7 separate regions of the Homo sapiens genome follow, and all the other regions are linked to region 4. Evidence: promoter capture Hi-C in 16 types of primary human blood cells and fetal thymus (Javierre and others, 2016). All regions are on one chromosome and are shown on one strand. The core of a region is centred on a gene start or on the middle of the fragment in contact, and the rest is flanking DNA. Distances in the headings are between cores, read along the strand shown.

What was found. Contacts are between HindIII fragments. The CHiCAGO score rates a contact against its expected background, and 5 or more counts as called.
Region 1: the fragment with the promoter of SEC14L3 here is called in contact with the fragment with the promoter of HORMAD2 in region 4 in 5 of 17 cell types (neutrophils, activated CD4 T cells, monocytes and 2 more); the score reaches 9.9 in neutrophils.
Region 2: a contact is called between a fragment that was not itself captured here and the fragment with the promoter of HORMAD2 in region 4, in 4 of 17 cell types (M0 macrophages, erythroblasts, megakaryocytes and 1 more). The highest score is 8.4, in M0 macrophages.
Region 3: a contact is called between the fragment with the promoter of NIPSNAP1 here and the fragment with the promoter of HORMAD2 in region 4, in 15 of 17 cell types (non-activated CD4 T cells, total CD4 T cells, erythroblasts and 12 more). The highest score is 12.2, in non-activated CD4 T cells.
Region 5: a contact is called between the fragment with the promoter of NF2 here and the fragment with the promoter of HORMAD2 in region 4, in 4 of 17 cell types (megakaryocytes, M0 macrophages, total CD8 T cells and 1 more). The highest score is 10.9, in megakaryocytes.
Region 6: a fragment that was not itself captured here is called in contact with the fragment with the promoter of HORMAD2 in region 4 in 1 of 17 cell types (erythroblasts); the score reaches 5.7 in erythroblasts.
Region 7: a fragment that was not itself captured here is called in contact with the fragment with the promoter of HORMAD2 in region 4 in 4 of 17 cell types (erythroblasts, megakaryocytes, M0 macrophages and 1 more); the score reaches 11.6 in erythroblasts.

Annotation. Positions count from the first base shown.
Region 1 is chr22:30,470,659-30,473,517 of GRCh38, forward strand. SEC14L3 (SEC14 like lipid binding 3) reads right to left here and starts at 1,359. Exons shown (of 12, transcript NM_174975.5): 1 at 1,247-1,359. The coding sequence starts at 1,300. The HindIII fragment of the contact is 8,474 bases long and covers 1-2,051 here.
Region 2 is chr22:29,684,761-29,687,587 of GRCh38, forward strand. All of the region lies in intron 15 of NF2 (NF2, moesin-ezrin-radixin like (MERLIN) tumor suppressor), which reads left to right. Among named protein-coding and RNA genes, the nearest start is that of CABP7-DT, 34 kb to the right of the region's middle. The HindIII fragment of the contact is 2,164 bases long and covers 320-2,483 here.
Region 3 is chr22:29,579,699-29,582,398 of GRCh38, forward strand. NIPSNAP1 (nipsnap homolog 1) reads right to left here and starts at 1,415. Exons shown (of 10, transcript NM_003634.4): 1 at 1,287-1,415. The coding sequence starts at 1,384. RefSeq lists an enhancer at 576-1,188 and a silencer at 1,172-1,221. The HindIII fragment of the contact is 18,053 bases long and covers 1-2,700 here.
Region 4 is chr22:30,079,129-30,081,963 of GRCh38, forward strand. It overlaps HORMAD2 (HORMA domain containing 2), which reads left to right and starts at 1,336. Exons shown (of 11, transcript NM_152510.4): 1 at 1,336-1,363. HORMAD2-AS1 (HORMAD2 and MTMR3 antisense RNA 1) reads right to left here and starts at 1,129. Exons shown (of 5, transcript NR_110541.2): 1 at 1,000-1,129. RefSeq lists enhancers at 792-1,489, 1,327-1,406 and a silencer at 937-986. The HindIII fragment of the contact is 6,725 bases long and covers 1-2,835 here.
Region 5 is chr22:29,602,245-29,605,116 of GRCh38, forward strand. It overlaps NF2 (NF2, moesin-ezrin-radixin like (MERLIN) tumor suppressor), which reads left to right and starts at 1,389. Exons shown (of 16, transcript NM_000268.4): 1 at 1,389-1,868. The coding sequence starts at 1,755. RefSeq lists an enhancer at 775-904 and a silencer at 1,155-1,734. The HindIII fragment of the contact is 9,228 bases long and covers 1-2,154 here.
Region 6 is chr22:29,668,711-29,671,604 of GRCh38, forward strand. All of the region lies in intron 10 of NF2 (NF2, moesin-ezrin-radixin like (MERLIN) tumor suppressor), which reads left to right. Among named protein-coding and RNA genes, the nearest start is that of CABP7-DT, 50 kb to the right of the region's middle. The HindIII fragment of the contact is 813 bases long and covers 898-1,710 here.
Region 7 is chr22:29,650,822-29,653,572 of GRCh38, forward strand. The region is part of intron 4 of NF2 (NF2, moesin-ezrin-radixin like (MERLIN) tumor suppressor); the gene reads left to right. Among named protein-coding and RNA genes, the nearest start is that of NF2, 49 kb to the left of the region's middle. The HindIII fragment of the contact is 1,376 bases long and covers 637-2,012 here.

The sequences.
Region 1 (2,859 bases), core at 109-2,608, 390 kb after region 4:
ACCTCTCCTTTCCTCCCACATGCAAAATGGCCCACATTGATGAAAGGATGGGTTAATGGTTGAATAGAAGGGCAGATGGATCACTGGATAGGTGGATGAATGGAAGGAGGATAGATGGATGAATAAATGGTTAGAAAGAAGAATAGATGGGTGAGTGGGTAGGTAGATGGAAAAAGGGAGAAGAAATCAATGGATGAATGGATAGATGGATGGATGGAGAGTGGGTGGGTGGATAAATCAGTGAATGGACAGAGGAGAGATGGGTGGGTGATTGAGAGAAAGAAAGATGGATAGGTGGCTGCGTGGGTAGGAAGAGGGATGGGTGGATGAAAGAAAGGATAAACAGCCAGGTATGGTGGCTCACGCCTGTCATCCCAGCACTTTAGGAGGCTGAGGTTGGTGGATCACCTGAGGTCAGGAGTTTGAGACCAGCCTGGCCAACATGGTGAAAACTCATCTCTACTAAAAATACAAAAATTAGCCAGGTGTGGTGGCACATGCCTGTAATCCCAGCTACTCAGGAGGCTGAGGCAGGAGAATTGCTTGAACCTGGGAGACAGAGGCTGCAGTGAGCTGAGATCGCTCCACAGCACTCCAGCCTGGATGACAGAGACTCCATCTCAAAAAAAAGAAGAAAAAGAAGAAGAAAGGATAAATAATTGGGTGGATGAATAAGTGGATTGGAGTTTGGATGCATTCTTAGTTCCCTCCATGTGTTAGCCCTCAAAACATCTGCTTTTTTTCATCCCATCTTCTATTAAAACATGGTTAATAATTATATGTCCTCTTCTTCCTTTAGCTCTTTGAAAGACAACACTTTCTGCTCTGTCTCTTGGGCTTTTACAGACTGGTCATCTTTCAGGATCCCAAAGAGGAAGGGGTTAAAGGGCAGACCAGCAGCATCTTTCAGCTCCTACCTATGGTGCCTGGGAGGGAGGAACGGGGGTACCTGGCTGCCAGGTAAACCTCTCTGGTTCTGGCTCCTGGATGAGAAGAAGTCAGGCTTGACTTGGGTGGGCACCACCCACGTTATTGCCTGGAAGTGGTGCTAGTCCCTCAACCCCCGCCCGGGACAGGGTTGATGTTACTGGGCACCGTGGGGCTTGACCCTTTGGGAGGTAACACCAAAGAGACAATGTCAAGGACATGCTGAATCAACTGAGTGGGGCAGGATTCCAGCCACTTCTTTCCACCCCCCAGCCCCTTTCCCCTGGTCTTCCGGAACTCCAGGGGGAGGGGCTCTCACCTTGGCCAGGGTCTCTGCCTGTTTGGGGCTCAGGTCTCCAACTCGGCCGCTCATGGTGCTGGCTGGGGCTTGAGGAGTGGTGGCCACTATAGGCAAGAGGCCAAGCCTAGTTTGTCAGCCCTGACCCAGCTGGGTCCTTTTGCCCCCACTCCTGGGCGTGGCTCCAAGCGCCTCCTCATGGGCCAACTGTTTAAATTGCAGATTACATAATTGGGATTAAGTGAGGTCCCCTGCTTGGCTTGGGGACAGATCTGGAGGGGCAGGCGGGCATGGAGCGTGTGCCAGAGGTCCCCTGCCAGGAGGAGGCAGCTGGGAGGAAGGGAGGCTGGCCTCCCGTGACCTTGGAGCCCAGAGTGAGTGCCTGTAGAACCCGCTGACCCTCCCAGGCCTCCAGTGACCACTGCCCTGGAGAAGGGGGAGTTTCAGGAGAATGAGGACCGCTCCTTGTGGGTACCCTTTCTCCCTGAGCCCCAGTCTTCCCACACTTAGGATTCTGCAAAGATCACCCCCCTCTACCCAGCTCTGAAAGGGTAGGATTCTGAGGCTTGGTCAGTGTAGTAAACAGTTCATTCACTTTGTTGGGGGTGGGAGGCCCAGGTCCTTCTTTTGTGTCCACAGTCAAGAAGAGGACAGATGGCATCTTTTGAACGTCACTTGCTTCATTTATAAAATGGGGCCGTTAATGTTTGCCTTCCCCTCCTTATGTGGTTAGAGGGAAGATCTAATGAGACATAGGGACTGTCAAGGGTTGTGTGCATCTGAGGGATACTCTCCTTCAGCTCTCCTGGTCCCCCCTGGAGCTGTAAGCTTCAGCTCCAGGAAGGGAGAGACCCTGTTATCCATGACTCTCTCTGAAGAAACCATCAGCTTGAGGCTGCAGCATGGCCACATGGCCACATGGCCACATCTCAGCCTTGAGGGGGTCTGCATGGGCTGAAACCAACCCCGGGCTAGCCTCGGCCCCAGCAGCTGGGCTAGCCCACACCATTCTGCCTAGGGCTTTTCTAGGTCCCCTACTCCTGGGGCATCCTGGGTACCCACCCCTGAGCTACAGTGGGCCTCTATTCTGGGCTAACCCAGGGTCTCTTTAGGCTAGTAGATGTTGGTCAGTATCAGACATCTTCTCAGGGACATCTTCCTTGCTCTGGGCTCCTCACAGAGTTGGATCCAGAAGGAGAAGGCAGGGCTAATGCTGGCCATTTCCCTCTGCCTGGGGAGCCCGTGGCATGTACTCAGGAACAGTTAGGTAACTCTCCACACCCCAGCCCTGCCCCATTTCACATTCCAGCCTCAATTTCTGCAAAGCCCCAGCTGCTGTCTACACCCACTTCCTGCCAGGCCAGTAATGTACAGAGATTGGGTTCCTCCACTGCCCTTTCCCGAGCCACTAATCCTGCCCATTTCTCACCAGTCTCCTTTCTCACCCTAATCCCTATAATGTGAGGTGTGCTAGTTACTTCTAGGGGCATCGGAGACTGTGAAGGAGAGCCAGGAGGGAGGGTTGGGGGTCTCCTCAGGAGTTGTGAGCCTTCACACTGAGCTCTTTTCCTGACCCAGACCACAGATTTGTCAAGTACCTTGCTATGTTCACAAATCCTCATCAGCTACAGTGC
Region 2 (2,827 bases), core at 152-2,651, 390 kb before region 4:
TTCTCTCAGCATCACTAGATTCAATAATGCTGCACTATTAAATTTTGCTGCACATGAAGTTCAGTGCATGTTCCATTTTCTAGACTTTGGCAGTGCCTGTGGTCAGTGACCGGGACTGATGAGCAGCCACATGCCTGCACTAGGGTGGCTCTGGGGTGGTGCATGCTGCAGTCTGGCTGGCACAAGCCTAGCTGAAGAGAAGTACTGCTTTAGGCTTGGATGTGGGGATACCTAGATGTCAAGGGCAGAACTCCATCTAGAATGCCTGGGGATGAGATGCAAAAGCTGATAGTGAATGGAACAGTTTCCAATGTCCAAAAGCTTGCTAATCTGGGATCAAACCAGCCTGTGTTGATGTTAGTTTTGCTTTGTTTTGAGACACGGTCTCCCTCTGTCACCCAGGCTGGTACATTCTCGGCTCACTGCAACCTCCACCTCACAGGCTCAAGTGATCCTCCTGCCTCAGCCTCCCAAGTAGCTGAGACTAGAGGTACTAGCCACCACACTCAACTAATTTTTGTATTTTTTATAGAGATGGGGTTTCGCCATGTTGCCCAGGCTGGTCTCGAACTCCTGAGCTCAACCAATCTGCCCGCCTCTGCCTCCCAGAGTGCTGGGATTATAAAAGTGAGCCACTGTGCCTGGCCTGTTTTGTTTTTAATAAGGTTTTTTGTTTGTTTTGTTTTGTTTGAGACAGGATCTCACTCTGTCACCCACCTTGGTGACAGCCTCGACCTCCTGGGCTCAAGCGATCCTCCCACGTCAGCCTCCCAAGTAGCTGGGACTACAGGCATTTGCCACCATGCCTGACTGATTTTTTTATTTTTATTTTTGTAAAGATGGGTTTCGCCATGTTTCCAGGCTGGTCTCGAACTCCTGAGCTCAAGTGATCTTCCTGCCACAGCCTCCCAAAATGCTGGGATTACAGACATGAGCCATCTTGCCTGGCCATTGTATTTGTCCTCGTTTTCAGTACTCTTCTGCCTCACTGAGAGGTCTCAGAGTCTGCTGTGTGGTTTCAGCAGTACCCATGGGGGCTGTGTAACATTGAAGCTGATTCAAGGAGTTTGCCCTTAGGTTACCAGGGGTTACCGCATTCCCTGAGGAATGCTGAGCGGCCATCCAGTCTGATTAACCGAGGTTCCTACTTCTCTGCCACTTCCTTTCTCTATAATTCTTACTCGCTCGCTCTCTCTTTTTTTTTTTTTATTATACTTTAAGTTCTAGGGTACATGTGCACAACGTGCAGGTTTGTTACATATGTATACATGCAGCTATAAAAAAGGATGAATTCTTACTCTCTCTTGAGGCACAGTGTCCTCACCTGCAAAAGGTGGATAAAAATAGTCTTTGCCCCCAGGAGTGTTGTGAGGAATAAATGAGAGAATGTGTGTGCAACACTCAGTGCACAGTCAGAGCTCAGTAAGGGGTTAAAACTCTGAAAAGGGAAAATCTGCTTGTGATCCTGCAGCAAAGGGCGAAGGACGGCATGTGGGCCACACCGCCACATCTAGGTACACTGCTTGTGCTGGGCATATTCATTCATTGTATTAATTGCTACGTGGCTGAAAGTAAAAACTTTTAAAAAGCCATAATTGGCCGGGCACAGTGGCTCATGCCTATAATCCCAGCACGTTGGGAGGCCGAGGCAGGTGAATCACCTGAGGTCAGGAGTTCGAGACCAGCCTGACCAACATGGAGAAACCCCGTCTCTACCAAAAATACAAAATTTGCCAGGTGTGGTGGCGCATGCCTGTAAACCCAGCTACTTGGGAGGCTGAGGCAGGAGAATTGCTTGAACCTGGGAGGTGGGGGTTGCAGTGAGCCAAGATCGTGCCATTGCACTCCAGCCTGGGCAACAAGAGCAAGATTCCATCTCATAAATAAATAAATAAATAGCCATAATTAACTTCACTGTTTCCTTGTAATATTTCACTTGGGTTTGCAAGGATGTATTTTTCTCCTCTTGCTAATCTTAACTTCCTGTATTTCCATTTTTCCCAATTGATGATCAGTACAACTAGTTTGCCATTTGCATCTGAGTCAGAGCAGTGCTAGCGATCAAAAGCCGCCCTGGGGAACCTGGAATTGTTTCATTCTCAGTGGGAGCGACACGTGTCCTGGCATCTGAGCCTTCCGAGTGAGGGGAGTGAGTCTGGCCATCAGGCTGGGGTTGAGGGACACAGGGTGCCTTGAGCCTGGCTTTCGTGCCTTCAGAGCCACAGTGCCAATGATGGGAGTGGTGGCTTGGTGTGGCGTAACTGTACCACCATACCTTGATGGTAGAATGCAGTCCTGGAATATATACATTCAGGGTCTTTCTTTCATCGCTTCTCAAGAGAGGGGTTTCAGTCTCCCGATCCTGAGCTGGTCTGAGTGCCAGCAAACAAAGTCATCACTTTTGTGCCTGTGGTCTCCCAAGGAGCACAGGATTTCCAAGGAAATTGACGGATGAGAAATCATGGGGGTGGTGGAGCTTAGAAAGCTTATTTCATTAGTAAATGGTTTGAACCGTCAAGGTCCAGCTGTGGTTTCCACTGATGGAGGAACAGGAAGAAGAGGAGCCTTGACATTTATCTCAAGCGCCAGCAGCTTCTCTTGGATCAGGAAGACATAAAAGTCCAATGTCATCTTCAATTTGTGCAGGCTCCCCTTGGAGTTGCAGAGCCAGTGAAGTGAAGTAGAACAGTTAAAAAAACACCCGGGGAAGTGATAAATCACAGAGAGAGATTGCATATGCGGGAAAGGTGTCTCCCACAATTAAAACAAGTGGCCAGAGCCTCCCTGGCGACCTCTGGTCTGCATTGCCAGCCCTGAAGATGGCTCC
Region 3 (2,700 bases), core at 165-2,664, 500 kb before region 4:
ATTACAGGCATGAGCCACCATACCCGACCAACCACAGCATCTTTAATCCTCAACAACCCTATGAGATACATCCTGATTACTCCCATTTTACAGATGAGGAACCCGAGGCTTAAAGAGTCCTGAGGTCACCCCACCTACAAAGTCTGAGTTAGATCTGTTAGTGCCAGGCAAACTCTAGGCTTTTCCCACGGTGTCAGCTTTATCCCTAATTATTGGGCAGTCTAGGTGGGGCGCTTATGCCACTCCTCTTTCCCAGCTGTCCAAAAGCCCCACTGCTCTGTGCTGTAACATCTCATGGCAGGCACTATCAGAACTTTGCAGCTTCATTCCTGGGCTGCAGGGCAGGAGGGATGGTTGCTTCCTTTTCACAGGTTGGGGGAGGGGGAACAGGTGGCCTCACTTCTTTGGTAAATATTCCTTGACCATACACAGTCCTGAGCCCTCTGAGGGTGGGAGGCTGGGGAAACAGAGAAAAATGAGATCATGGTCTAGTGAGAGAGACAGACAAGCACCAAGTCATAACTGTGCAGGGTCATATATGCAGAGATGGGGGAAGTACAGGGCTGTGGGGACCAAGGAGTGAGGGGCTGCCCAGGGCCAGTCAGGGAGGCCAAGCCCTAGCTCAGCCCAGAGCAGGGCCCAAACAAAAGCCCAGGCTGAGAGCACATGGCCCAGCCAGACTCCCACTCCCAGGAGGCCACCAGTTGGGTGCAAAGTGCATGGCGCATTGGCAGGCCTGGGTCCCAGACCTGGTGCTGCCACGGCACAGCAGGGAGGGTGACCTTGGACAACTCCCATTCCCTCTCAGGTCCGTTTCCCCACCTGTACAGTTCGAGGTGGAGGAACAAAGGGTCTGTGCAGCCATGGCCCCTGGGGATCCCCCACTGCTCCCCTGCCATCATCTCTTTCCCACAGAACTTCCCGACGGAGGAGCTGACTACCAGAAGCCCCCAGTGGGTGTTAAATCACAAGCTACGCCTGGGAATGGGCCACTCCTCCTGTCTTCTGCCCTCTCCCACTCTCCAGGGCCCAGTACCTGCCCTTCTCACCATCTTTCATCAGGTCCCCATCACAGCCCGGTCCCAACCAGGACAAAGACCCTACCCATCCCTTTCTCACCTCCCCCATTCTTTGCCCAGACCCCTCCCTAGGCCTTGATCCTGCCCCGCCTCTAACCCCCAGATTCCAAGCGAGGAGTCTCAGCCCCTCCCCCACGACCCAGTCCCTGGCCCCCGCGCCTGCACCCCACCCCGCGCGCGTCTATCCCTGCCTGGCCGGGCTCTCACCGCGCCGCAGCTGCAGACGCAACGTCCCCAGCGCGAGGCCCCGGGCCCCCCAGCAGCCGCCGCGCCGTCACAGAGATGCTGCACAGCCGCGGAGCCATGTTGGAGCCGCAAAGGTTGCAGGAAGGCCCCGCCCCCAAGCCCTGGTGGCGGAGGCGGGGCGCGAATAAACTCCACCCCTCCGGCTCGCCCGCCCCCTCACTCACCCGGTCAGGTGGGCGTTTCCTGTGGGCGTCTCCAACTCCGCAGGTGCTGGACGGAAGTCAGGGTTCTAATCCTCTGCGCGCTCTGCGACCTTGGCAAGCCCTTTGCCCACTCTGGGCCTCAGGATCCACCTCGGTAAAATGGGAGCGTGGAACAATAATACCAAGGGTTCTTTTTTTTTTTTTTTTTTTTTTTGAGACGGAGTCTCGCTCTGTCGCCCAGGCTGGAGCGCAGTGGCGCGATCTCGGCCCACTGCAAGCTCCGCCTCCTGGGTTCACGCCATTCTCCTGCCTCAGCCTCCCGAGTAGCTGGAACTACAGGCGTCTGCCACCACGCCCAGCTAATTTTTTGTATTTTTAGTAGAAACGGGGTTTCACCGTGTTAGCCAGGATGGTCTCGATCTCCTGACCTCGTGATCTGCCTGCCTCGTGCTCCCAAAGTGCTGGGATTACAGGCGTGAGCCACCATGCCCAGCCTACCAAGGGTTCTTAACAAGGCTGTCCGGGATGTGCAGCAGAGGGTCAGTGTAACCACCCCATGGGTTCATTTTGCCCGTTTCCCAGACAGCGGATTTATCAAGACAGAGGAATTGCAATAAGAGTTTAATTCATGCAGAGCCGGCTGAATGGGAGACCGGAGTTTTATTATTACTCAAATCAGTCTCCCTGAAAATTCGGAGACTGGGTTTTATTAAGGATAATTTGGTGGGTAGGGGCCAGAGAGTGGAGAGTGCTGATTGGTCAGGTCGGAGATGCAATCATAGGGAGTGGAAGCCGTCCTCTTGTGCTGAGTGGATCTCTGGGTGGGGGCCACAAAACCGGATGATCCGGTTTCTTAATCTGTGTATCGCCAGCGGATCCATTGAGTGCAGGATCGGAAAAATATCTTGAGCACCAATCTTAGGTTTTACAGTAGTGATGTTATCCCTAGGAGCAACTGGGGAGGTTTAGAATCTGTGGCCACTACCTGCATGACTCCTAAACCGTAATTTCTAATCTCGTGGCTAATTTGTTAGTCTTACAAAAGCAGTCTGGTCCCCAGGCAAGAAAGGGGTTTATTTTGGGAGAGGGCTGTTATCTTTGTTTCAAAGTTGAACTATAAATTTGCTGCCGGGCATGGTGGCTCATGCCTGTAATCCCAGCATTTTGGGAGGCAAAGGTGGATCAGAAGTTTAGGTCAAGAGTTCAAGACCAGCCTGGCCAACAGGGTGAAA
Region 4 (2,835 bases), core at 86-2,585:
TTTCCTGCAGAAACAAAATAAGAACAGGTTTCAAGTGGCTCACTCTTTCATCTACTCTCTTGGGAAATCCCCTTGGGGAGGTTCATGGGACTCCAGGAGCCTTTGGAAAGCACCACAGGATACGAAATATCTACCTAAACAGGTGAGAAACGATCCAAGGAGCCACACCCCCAACTGCTCCCACAGTTACCAGGGCAGAAAAAACTGAGATTAGGGGTAGGGCACAAAGGAGAATATATTTATGTTTTATTTGCATAATTACAAATTAATGTTAAAAAGAATGCAAAGTCAGGTCCAGGGTAGGGATGAAGAGGTTGCAGATGCCCTCAAGTATTGGAAAGCTCTGGCCTTCTGGCCTTATGTCTTTTTTCTTTCTTTTCTTTTTTTTTATTTTTGAGACAGGGTCTCCCTCTGTTGCCCAGGCTGGAGTGCAATGGTACGATCTTGGCTCACTGCAACCTCAAACTCCCCGGCTCAAGCGATCCTCCTACCTCAGCCTCCCGAGCAGCTGGGACTACAGGCGCACGTCAGGTGGCCCAGCTAATTTTTGTACTTTTTAAAATTTTTTTGAGACGGAGTCTCGCTCTGTCGCCCAGGCTGGAGTGCAATGGCGGAATCTCGGCTCACTGCAACCTCAGCCTCCTGGGCTCAAGCGATTCTCGTGCCTCAGCTTCCCAAGTAGCTGGGACTACAGGCGCGCGCCACCACGCCCAGCTAATTTTTGTATTTTTTGTAGAGACGGGTTTTCAACATGTTGGCCAGGCTGGTCTCGAATTCCTGACCTCAAGTGACGCGCCCGCCTCAGCCTCCCAGAGTGCTGGGATCCCAGGTGGAGCCACCGCGCCGCACTTCTCGGGCCTTCTTCTAACTCGGGTCCCTGGGCCCCCCAGGCTCTCGCTTCCCTCCCCTACGCCGCCCCGCGCCCGCCTCAGACCTCTCTGGGACCCGCCGGCCTGGCGTCCTGGCCCGCCCGAGCCCCACGGTCCCTCGGGTCCTAACCTCGGCGGGGCAGGCACCTCCTCAGGAAGCCCCGGAGCAGGCTGTCGTTGTATAGGTGGCCCAGGCTGGCGGCCCCTGACCGAAGGTCGCGTCGGGTCAGTGTGCAGCCCGTGGCTGAGAGGCGGCTGCTGAGGGGCCGGGCGGGCTAGGGGCCGGCTAGCCGCCGTTCGCCCCTGCTTTGCATATTCATGAAGTCTAGCGAGGCCGGTCGCCCAGGCTAGCCGTGGACGGGTCATGAATTATTCATGAGGAAACCTCTGGTCCCGCCCAGAAAGGCCTCGTTGACTATTCATGAGCCGAGGAGCGGGTTTGGGCCGGAAAAGGCCGTTGACCCCCGGTGGGAGGGAAGCGTCGACGAGCTGAGGTGAGGGCTGTTGAGACGCGAGGTCTCGGCCCAGAGAGGGCACTCGGGCGTTGTTAGTTCTGTCTTTATGTCAAAAAACAATTTTTTTTTCTTTTCTTATTACTTAAGGCTTTAAGTTGGATTTGAAAGTATCATATTTCGTGAGGGCCTAAAGTACTGTGAAGAGAATCGGGAGGGCAGGGGGCTGAGGAGGAAGGCAAAAGGGAGGCGATTTCCCCCAGAACTGGACAGAGAGCACCCAGGTAGTTTTGAAATTCAGATTTTTCTGGACATGAAATCAAACTTGCTGAGCAAGCAGCAGCCATAATGAGCCATGATGAGGCTGGCAGGGCAGACGATGTCTGTGCCCGACATTGGAGGGGGCCGTGTGTGGTGGAGCTTTGGGGAAGTTTATCTTACCTGGGTCAGATTCTCCCCAGCCATTGAGGTTTTCTGCCAGGATCGATGCCTGGTACAGGCCAAGAGGTGAGAGAGGTGGGGACAAGACACCCCGCCCCCCTTGACCTCAGCTCCCCTTTCACTTTAGTGAGGATTTGCCAATTAATCCCTATGGACTTTAGTTCCCTAAACAGAGGGAGAGAGTCTTGAACCTCAGGATTAGCCAATCGCCAAAATGTGTCCGAGTACGCAGGGCACTGGACAGGCTGTGCAGTACATCGTGTACTCAGCTGGTAGAAATGAGGGGTGGTTCTGGCCCCTAAAGGGGTTTTTAATCTCAGCAGGATCATAATCTAATTTCTCCTCCATTGGACCATCAATCTGTTGAGGTAGGAACAGTATTTTACATCTCGTAATCCTGCATGTTGTTGCCTGGCACATTGTAGTTGCCTCGTAGATGTTGAATGAATGAATAATTGAAATAGCATGAAAAAGATATTAAAAAGTCAAAAGAGCATGAACAAATACTCAATTAATATAGTGGAAGCCATTTTCTCTGAATGAGCACAGGTAGGGGAATTACCAGGGCCAAATGGAATTTGTTAAAATGGTGAATAATTTATTGAAGCAAGCTCTGTTGGAAGGTCTAAGTAATTGGGCGAACTTTGGCAAACCAAGTTCCCTTGCTTAGCCTCACTTTCCTTTTCTTTTTTCTTTTTTTTTTGTGAGATGGAGTCGAGCTCTGTGCCAGGCTGGAGTGCAGTGACGCAATCTCAGCTCACTGCAACCTCCACCTCTCGGGTTCAAGCGATTCCCCTGCCTCAGCCTCCCATGTAGCTGGGACTACAGGTGTGCACCACCACGCCCAGCTAAATTTTTTTATTTTTTTTTATTTTTAGTAGAGACAGGGTTTCACCATGTTGGCCAGGATAGTCTCGATCTCTTGACCTCGTGATCCTCCCACCTCGGCCTCCCAGAGTGCTGGGATTACAGGTGTGAGCCACTGCACCTGGCCCCTTTTCTTTATAGTTTTATGTTTAGGTTTAAATCCATGATCCATTTTGCATTAATATTTGTATACAGTGTGAGATTTA
Region 5 (2,872 bases), core at 139-2,638, 480 kb before region 4:
GAGGCTGAGGCAGGAGAATTGCTTGAACCCGGGAGGCGGAGGTTGCAGAGAGCCGAGACCGCCCCATTGTACTCCAGCCTGGGCAACAAGAGCGAAACTCTGTCTCAAAACAAAAAACAAACGAAAAAACACAGTAAATTGTCCCTATTTGACTACTAAGAGCTATTTTAAAATAGAATTTATTATCTAAGTACAGAAAGGTGTAATTATCCCCCCTACACCCGTTAGAACCCTTGATGACACTAAATAAATAATACATGAATACGGTTCAAAAATGGGCATCATAGAGTATAAAATAAAGAATGCTTTCATTTTCAACCCAAATTCAGCAATTTCATAGGATGCCAGGCTCAGCTCTAAAGCCTTATATGTATTCAGTGCGCTGAAATTCAACAACCTCACGAGGTAGGTATAACCAATAATAATTCTAGGCGGGGCGTGGTGGCTCACGCCTGTAATCCTAGCACTTCGGGAGGCCGAGGCGGGCGGATCACCTGAGGTTCGAGACCAGCCTGACGAACATGGAGAAACCCCGTCTCTAATAAAAATACAAAATTAGCCGGGCGTGGTGACGCATACCTGTAATCCCAGCTACTCGGGAGGCTGACGCCGGAAAATCGCTTGAACCCGGGAGGCGGAGGTTGCAGTGAGCCGAGATCGCGCCACTGCACTCCAGCCTGGGCAACAAGAGCGAAACTCCGTCCCAATAATAATAATAATTAATAATAATAATAATAACAATAATAATAATAATTCTAAAGGGAAGCAGAGGGATCTGGCGGGAAAGTGCCAGCAAACCTAACAGGCCTCCACAAGTGTCTTTAAAGTTTCATAGGGGTCGGTATATGTGATTAACTGCCAAAGAAGAATATTCGCCGTGTGTCCGAAACGCAGTCCCCTGGGGCGCCACACTCGGAGCCTACTTGAACCGAAGAGTCCCTCCCTGGGCCAACGAAGGACCCAATTCCCCTCGCCCCGGATCCAGCCTCTAAGTGGTTTCCCGGGTAAGGTCAGCAGAGGTCCGCCGCCTCAACCAGTCTTGTTAGAGTAGGCACAAAAGCATTCAGAGTGACTGCCACTGTAGCCACTCAACGCCGAGCCTAGGCCTGCTTTTTTTGCAGTTAGAGTGAAACTTTCCATTGGTGGAGTCACCCCAAAGGAGGCGGGACGGAGCGGGAAAGTCCTGCCTACCTTGGCCTTCCCAGCCAATCGCAGCATCTATGCGTCAGCCTCCGGTTCGGTTGCGCTGCGCGTAGTGGTCTGGGCGACCTGAGGGCGGGGCCGGGAGCAGGCCCCGGGCTGTGGGGAGGGTGCGCTTCCCGCGGGCGCGCGGAGTGAGGACGGTGACAGCCACGCGCGCGCGTACGCGCCCGATGCAGCGCGGCCCCGTGACCCTAGTCGGCCGCTGAGAGGCGCGCGGAGTCTGGGCCGCTGCCGTCTAGGGGTCCCGTCCCGAGGCGTCCCCGGCATCTCCGGCCCGAATCCCGGAGTGCCGGGTCGCGCCTGCACCGAAGGTCCCGGCTCCTGTGCCCTCCCTGCAGCCGTCAGGGCCCGTCCCCCAACTCCCCTTTCCGCTCAGGCAGGGTCCTCGCGGCCCATGCTGGCCGCTGGGGACCCGCGCAGCCCAGACCGTTCCCGGGCCGGGCAGCCGGCCACCATGGTGGCCCTGAGGCCTGTGCAGCAACTCCAGGGGGGCTAAAGGGCTCAGAGTGCAGGCCGTGGGGCGCGAGGGTCCCGGGCCTGAGCCCCGCGCCATGGCCGGGGCCATCGCTTCCCGCATGAGCTTCAGCTCTCTCAAGAGGAAGCAACCCAAGACGTTCACCGTGAGGATCGTCACCATGGACGCCGAGATGGAGTTCAATTGCGAGGTAACCGGCCGGCAGCCCCGACTGCTGCGGTGACAGTCGAGGTGGAAGCTCGAGAGGTTCTCTTTATATCATCTTATGGGTGTAGCTAGAGACGGGCAGAACCGGAAGGGCCAACTAGGCCCAAAACCTCATGTTAAAGATGATTGCTGCTTTTTTTCATAGGACTTTTGGGTTTTGGCATTTCCTGAAGGTTATTTTCATTCATTGTTATTGGAAGAAGCTGGATGCTCCTGTGATAGAAAATTCAGGATTTCAGTGTCAGGCTTAAGTTAGGCTTACGCTTAAAAGCTTGAAAGTTTATTCTTTCATTAGGTAATATTGTTATGTACCCAGGTATTAGAAGTTGCGTCTTGTTTATTGGAAAGCCAATACTTGTTTCCCTTTTCTAAAGCTTGCATATTCTGGGAAAAAAAACCCTTTGAAGAACGATATAACATCTCATACTTACTTTCCACATAGTTTCCAACATGATGATAACAGCTATCAATTGTTCAGTATTTTCAAAGTGCTAGACATTTGCACATTTAATCCTCAGAACAAACCCATTTATCTAGTAAATGGCAAGGTGGGGTTTTGAACCAAGCTCACAGCCCGTACAGTACTGCTTCTCAAGTAATTTAAGTTCTTGCTGCTAAAAGTGTGGTTTGTGGACCAGCAGCATTGGCAGCAGTAAGCAAGGGTTGGCATGCTTTTTCTGTACAGGACCACATAGTAAATATTTTCAACTTTGTAGACTAGAGAATCTCTGTTGGAGTTATTCAACTCTTCAACTCTACCATTGTAACACAAAAGCAGCCTTAGATAAGATCAGCTTCCAGCATGACAGCTTAAGGAACCCATTCCTCTGTAAAACTGGTGAAAATTCTTTTTTGTTTTGTTTCGTTTTGAGACAGAATCTCACTCTGTCACCGAGGCTGGCATGCAGTAGTGTGATCATGGCTTACTGCAACCCTGACCAACCTCCCTGGCTCAATCAGTCCTCCTGCCTCAGCCTCTCGAGTAGC
Region 6 (2,894 bases), core at 54-2,553, 410 kb before region 4:
TGGGATGAAATAGCCAAGAGTGCATGCATCTATCCGTCCGGCTAGCTAGCTTGCTTTCTTTTTTTGCCTGTCTGCCTCCTTGTGCAGCCTTCTCCTTTTCTAATTAGATGGTGATAGAATGCCAGGTGGCATTTCAGTGCTTGCGGCTGGAATGCTAATTTGACTCTGGCTGCAATTCCCCACTGCAGGTCAGGCCTTATGGCATGTCACCTGCCCCAGGAGGTGCCAGGAGCATCTATCAGCAGACTGGATGATCTGCATCATTGTTTTCTACTCATAAACCTTCTCTGCTCATGGAAATCCACACAACTAATTTGGGCCTTACTGCTGAGAATATCAATTGTGTTTTTGGATAAACTACTAGATAGAGTAGCAGCAGCTGCAGTTGGCTGCCCGCAGGACTTGCAAGCTCAGAAGTGTAATAATTAGTCTGTGTGCACCTTTCTGATTTGGATACATTGGAGAGGCTGGTCCCAGCCCTAGGATTTAGAATGAAATGCCCAGTGTGCTTTCAGCTCTCTATCTCTTTGCTTTCTGAGGTAGTGGGCCACAAATGTGTTCTTTGGGATGCTTTCAGGGTGATGGGATGGATTTGTTGGACAAAGAAATCCTACTGAGCCAGCATGGGGTCATAGTGGCAGTTTCATGAAGAGCTCGTGGCAGTGGCTCATCCCTATAACTCCAGCACTTTGGGAGGCCAAGGCAGGAGGATCACTTGCCTAGGAATTTGAGGCTGCAGTGAGCTATGATTGCACCACTACATTCCAGCCTGGGTGACCAAGCAAGACCCTGTTTTAAAACAGAAGCAGAAACAAAATACCAAAATAAATAAATAAATAAGTAAATAAATAAGAAGGAGGAGGAGAGCTTTCTTTGACCTTTTTCTTAGCAGAGCAAAGCTTAGAAGTAAGAAATCTGAAAGTGTCAGGGAATATGCAGTCTGTGGGCCCTGGCAGAGAATAGCAGGAACACTGCAGATCGGCACTGCTTACAGCACAGCAGAGCCACAAACCTGGCATCTGGGCAACCACAGATCAGGTGGACAGACACTGACCTTGGAGCCAGATCTGAAATTTAGAATGTGAGTAAGTCAATGACTTACCTTCCAGACCTTAGTTTTCTCATCCATCAGGTGAAACTAATGATATACCTTCTCCATCTCAGATGAAGGGACGTATATTACACCTTACAGTCTTTGTATGCAGTAAACTTCTTTTGTGAATAGGAGGTCTTTTATATTGGGGTAGAGGTCTCAGGGAAAGTACAGGGCCAGGAACTGAAGGAGATTACCTGGCTTTTTTTTTTAATAAAAGGGTCTTGTTCTGTCACTGAGGCTGGAGTGCAGTGGTGCCATCATAGCTCACTGTAACCTCAAGCTCCTGGGCTTGAGCAATCCTTCTGCCTCAGCCCCTCAAGTAGCTGGGACTACAAGTGCATGCTACCACACCTAGTTAATTTTAATTGTTTCGTAGAGATCAGGTCTTGCTATGTTACCCAGGCTGATCTCAAACTCCTGGGCTCAAACATTCCTCCTACTTCAGCCCCCCAAAGTGCTAGGGTTACAGGCATGAGCTGCTATGCCTGCCTGGCCTGACTGGGCTTTTTCTTTCTTTCTTTCTTAGTTTCTTTTTTTTTAAAAGAATTGTAGATATGTAGTAAGCCACCTTATGGAAATTGTAATATGATGGAAATTAGAGAACAAATTGGCCAAGCTTTTCATTGACTTACAAGGAGAAAATTGGAGAAGAACTTTCACTGTTTTATTGCTTGTCTTTGCATTATCTTTTTGAGCTTGTGTGTGTGTGTGTGTGTGTGTGTGTGTGTGTGTATTTGGCTTAGGATTTAGAAAAAGCAGCAGTCTTAGAAACCTTGTATGACCAGAGTGTGGGATAAGATTGAAGCAAGAAGTAATTAAATGTGCTTTAATTATTTAAGGCAGAAAATAGTGCAGTGGTCACTTCTGGGTTCTGCTTTTTGAACTCAGTTAGTACCCTGGGATCACAGAGGAATGGCACTGTCTTGTGCTTGTTCCCCTTATTAAGCTCAGCATGTGGCCCAATTAATGCAGTGATCCAGAAGGCAAGGGAGGTAGTGGTGGCTTTGTGCTGTTGCCTTAAGGACACGGGGCTGTGTTTCCCGCCTGGCTCCCTCCTGTCCTAGGCCTGGCTCAGGAGTTGTCTCCACATGAGGCTGTGCAAGTCTGTGCTGTGGCTGTTGCAGCTCCCCCCTGTGAAATACAATGTGTGAACTATTGATGCATCACGTAGAATGATTCCATCTTCTCTGTGGGTCAGAGGCAAGAGTGGAGCTATTGTTGATGAAATCAGAGATGTGAGAGGGGTCCATGTGGATTAGAAATGGTGAGATGGCTTGCCTGCCCAGATGAGAAAGCTGCTTATTTCTGGGGCTCTATCTGAGGGAGGAGGTCCTGCATTGCATCCCATCGGCCATGGGGCAGAGCCACCTGGGGTTTCCCAACAAAAAGCAACATTGGCAAGGTAGCCATTTCAGTGCACCGTGTATAAGAATGCCTCCTTCTGCCAGGCGCGGCGGCTCATGCCTGTAATCCCAGCACTTTGGGAGGCCAAGGTGGGTGGATCATAAGGTCAGGAGTTCAAGACCAGCCTGGCCAATATGGTGAAACCTGATCTCTACTAAAAATACAAAAATTAGCCAGGCATGGTGGCGGGTGCCTATAGTCCCAGCTACTCGGGAGGCTGAGGCAGGAGAATTGATTGAACCTGGGAGGCGGAGGTTGCAGTGAGCCGAGATCGCGCCACTGCACTCCAGCCTGGGTGACAGAGCAAAACTCTGTCCCCTCCACCAAAAAAAAAGAATGCCTTTTTCTATCCGGGTCAAGACTCAACAGGTTTTTATTGTTTGTTCATTTGTTC
Region 7 (2,751 bases), core at 75-2,574, 430 kb before region 4:
GGAACTCCTGACCTCAGGTGATCCATCCGCCTCGGCCTCTCAAAGTGCTGGGATTACAGGCATGAGCCACTGCACCCAACCTGTTCATCTTTTTCCGATTGATTTGTAGATGCTCCATGTATTATGAGTTATCAACCTTTTGTCTATTTTACGTATAGGACTGGTCAATCTTTTTCTTTGTATGTTTTGAGTGACTTTTAGAATGCGTTTACCAACCATTATTATATCCATACTCTGTTATGTTTTGTTCTGGTATTTTTATGGATTTTCATTTATAGGTTTAAGAATTTATTGACTGGTGTGTGGGTATAGTAGGGAGGGGGTCTGTCTTTTTTCTATATATGTAGTAATCTAACCTTTATGTTTTTGTGAAATCCTACTCAGAGCATTTTATCTCATTTCTCATAGTTATAGACAGGAAATTATTTCATATCCAGATAGAGCCTCCGTTTAACCTAAGTATTGGCTCCACAAGTCTTTTAAATGGTAAACTCCTTGAATTTAAATTCAATTAGTTTATGTCACGAGTAGGTCCAGGTTTTCTGGGTCTGAATTTTAATAATTTAGGGGATTGTCTTTAATGCAAGAGTACCAAATTAGGTACAGGCATATGAAGGTGCAGAGACCTGAAATCCAAGCTTCCTTAGCTTCCCAGTAAATTCACCCTGGTTACATTATCAGAATGCATCTGTTACATAAAACGATGAGGAGCAGCCATCTCCATCCCTGGAGTGGTATGACTTTCTTTTGTATTCACCAGCTACCACAACTTCAGGATTTTTTTCTTCCCTTGTTGTTTAAAGAGACATTTAAGAGCAGACACATACATCAAGGTGGCTTTAATGTTGGAAGCAGAGTTAGTCCAGTGGAGAAGTTCTTTCAGCAGGGTCTTTGCCACCTCTGCATTGCTCAAATGTGATGTATTTGATCAGTGGACTAGCTGAGAACTTGGTATAATAATGGGGGTTGTTAATCTTGCATGCCTTTGGAACCTGAATTTACAGCTTTAACTTTGCATATCTGCTTGCTTTTGCATTAGAGCTTGGTCAGCACTGTTGAGAGATTTGCAAATGCAACTAACAGGGCTTTCTTTTAGCATCCTACCCTTTCAAAAATCCAGGAGGCAAACAATGATCAATGTTGTCATAAGTAATGCAGAGGATGGCAATAATAATAATACCTGACTTTCACCATAAGCCATGTGCTGTGCGAAATGCTTACCTGTATTGTTTTACTTCATCCTCATCATCCCCTATAAGGCAGATGCTATTATGACCCTCACTCTACAGATGAGGAAGTTGAGGCTTAGAGAGAGGATGCCTTACTCAAGGCCTCAGAAGGGGTACTTCAGCACCCCCCCACTTCCCTTCAGGATCCTCTAAGGCCAGTGCTCTCATTTGACAAATGAAAGACAGATTTGGAGAGACCTGAGATCTTTTGGACATCAGGTTTATGTGTCAAGCATAGTTTTATTTATTTTATTTTATTTTGTTATTTTTTGAGATGGAGTTTTGCTCTTGTTGCCCAGGCTGTAGTGCAATGGCATGATCTTGGCTCACTGCAACCTCCGCCTCCCGGGTTCAAGCGATTCTCCTGCCTCAGCCTCCCGAATAGCTGGGATTACAGGCATGTACCACCACGCCTGGCTGATTTTGTATTTTTAGTAGAGACGGGTTTCTCCATTTGGTCAGGCTGCTCTCAAACTCTCAACTTCAGGTGATCTGCCCGCCTAGGCCTCCCAAAAGTGCTGGGATTACAGGTGTGAGCCACCACGCCCAGCCAAGCATAGTTTTAAAAACTTTGCTGGTCTTATTTAATTAAATCCCTGTAAGAGTCCTGCAAGATAAATACTATTATTATTCCTGTTTTACAGATGAGAAAGCTGAGACACAAAAATTTCCAAGGCCACATAGCTACTATGTGAAAGATGTAGGATAAAACCTTAGGCAGCCTGCCTCCAGAGCCAGGCTCCTACCCTCACTCTACAGCTGCCTTGCAGGGAGTACTGTTAAAGCTTAGTACAGTTACGACTTACTGCATCACATCTCTGAGCCTCCCAGAAATAGAGAGATACCAAGGCCTTTCATTTATAATTTCTAAGTTATTTTTTATTTTTATAGACAGGGTCTTCCACTGTCACTCAGGCTGGAGTGTAGTGGCACAATCACAGCTCACTGTAGCCTTAACCCGTGGGCTCAAGTGACCCTCCCATTTTGGCCTCCCAAAGTCCTAGGATTACAGGCATGAGCCATGGTGCCCACCCTATTTTTTTAAATGAAGAAATGCCTAAACTGTGTTACAAAAACTGTGGCATGTTTAAAATGTTTAAATTTGACAAATTAGGCCAGGCGCGGTGGCTGACGCCTGTAATCTCAGCACTTTGGGAGGCTGAGGCGGGCAGATCACAACATCAGAAGTCCGAGACCAGCCTGGCCAACATGGTGAAACCCTGTCTCTACTAAAAATACAGAAATTAGCCCGGGGTGGTGGCGTGCACCTGTAATCCCAGTTGCTCAGGATACTGAGGCAGGAGAATTGCTTGAACCTGGGAGGTGGAGGTTGCGGTGAGCTGAGATCACGCCATTGCACTCCAGCCTGGGTGACAGAGCGAGACTCTGTCTCAAAAAAAAAAAAAAAAAAAATTGACAAATTAATTCTCTTAAGATTCAAAAAAAACAATGCAATACAATTCTGCTATTTGAAAGATAATTATGAGATTCAAAAGAAATATGAATTCATGGGGCTTTTACA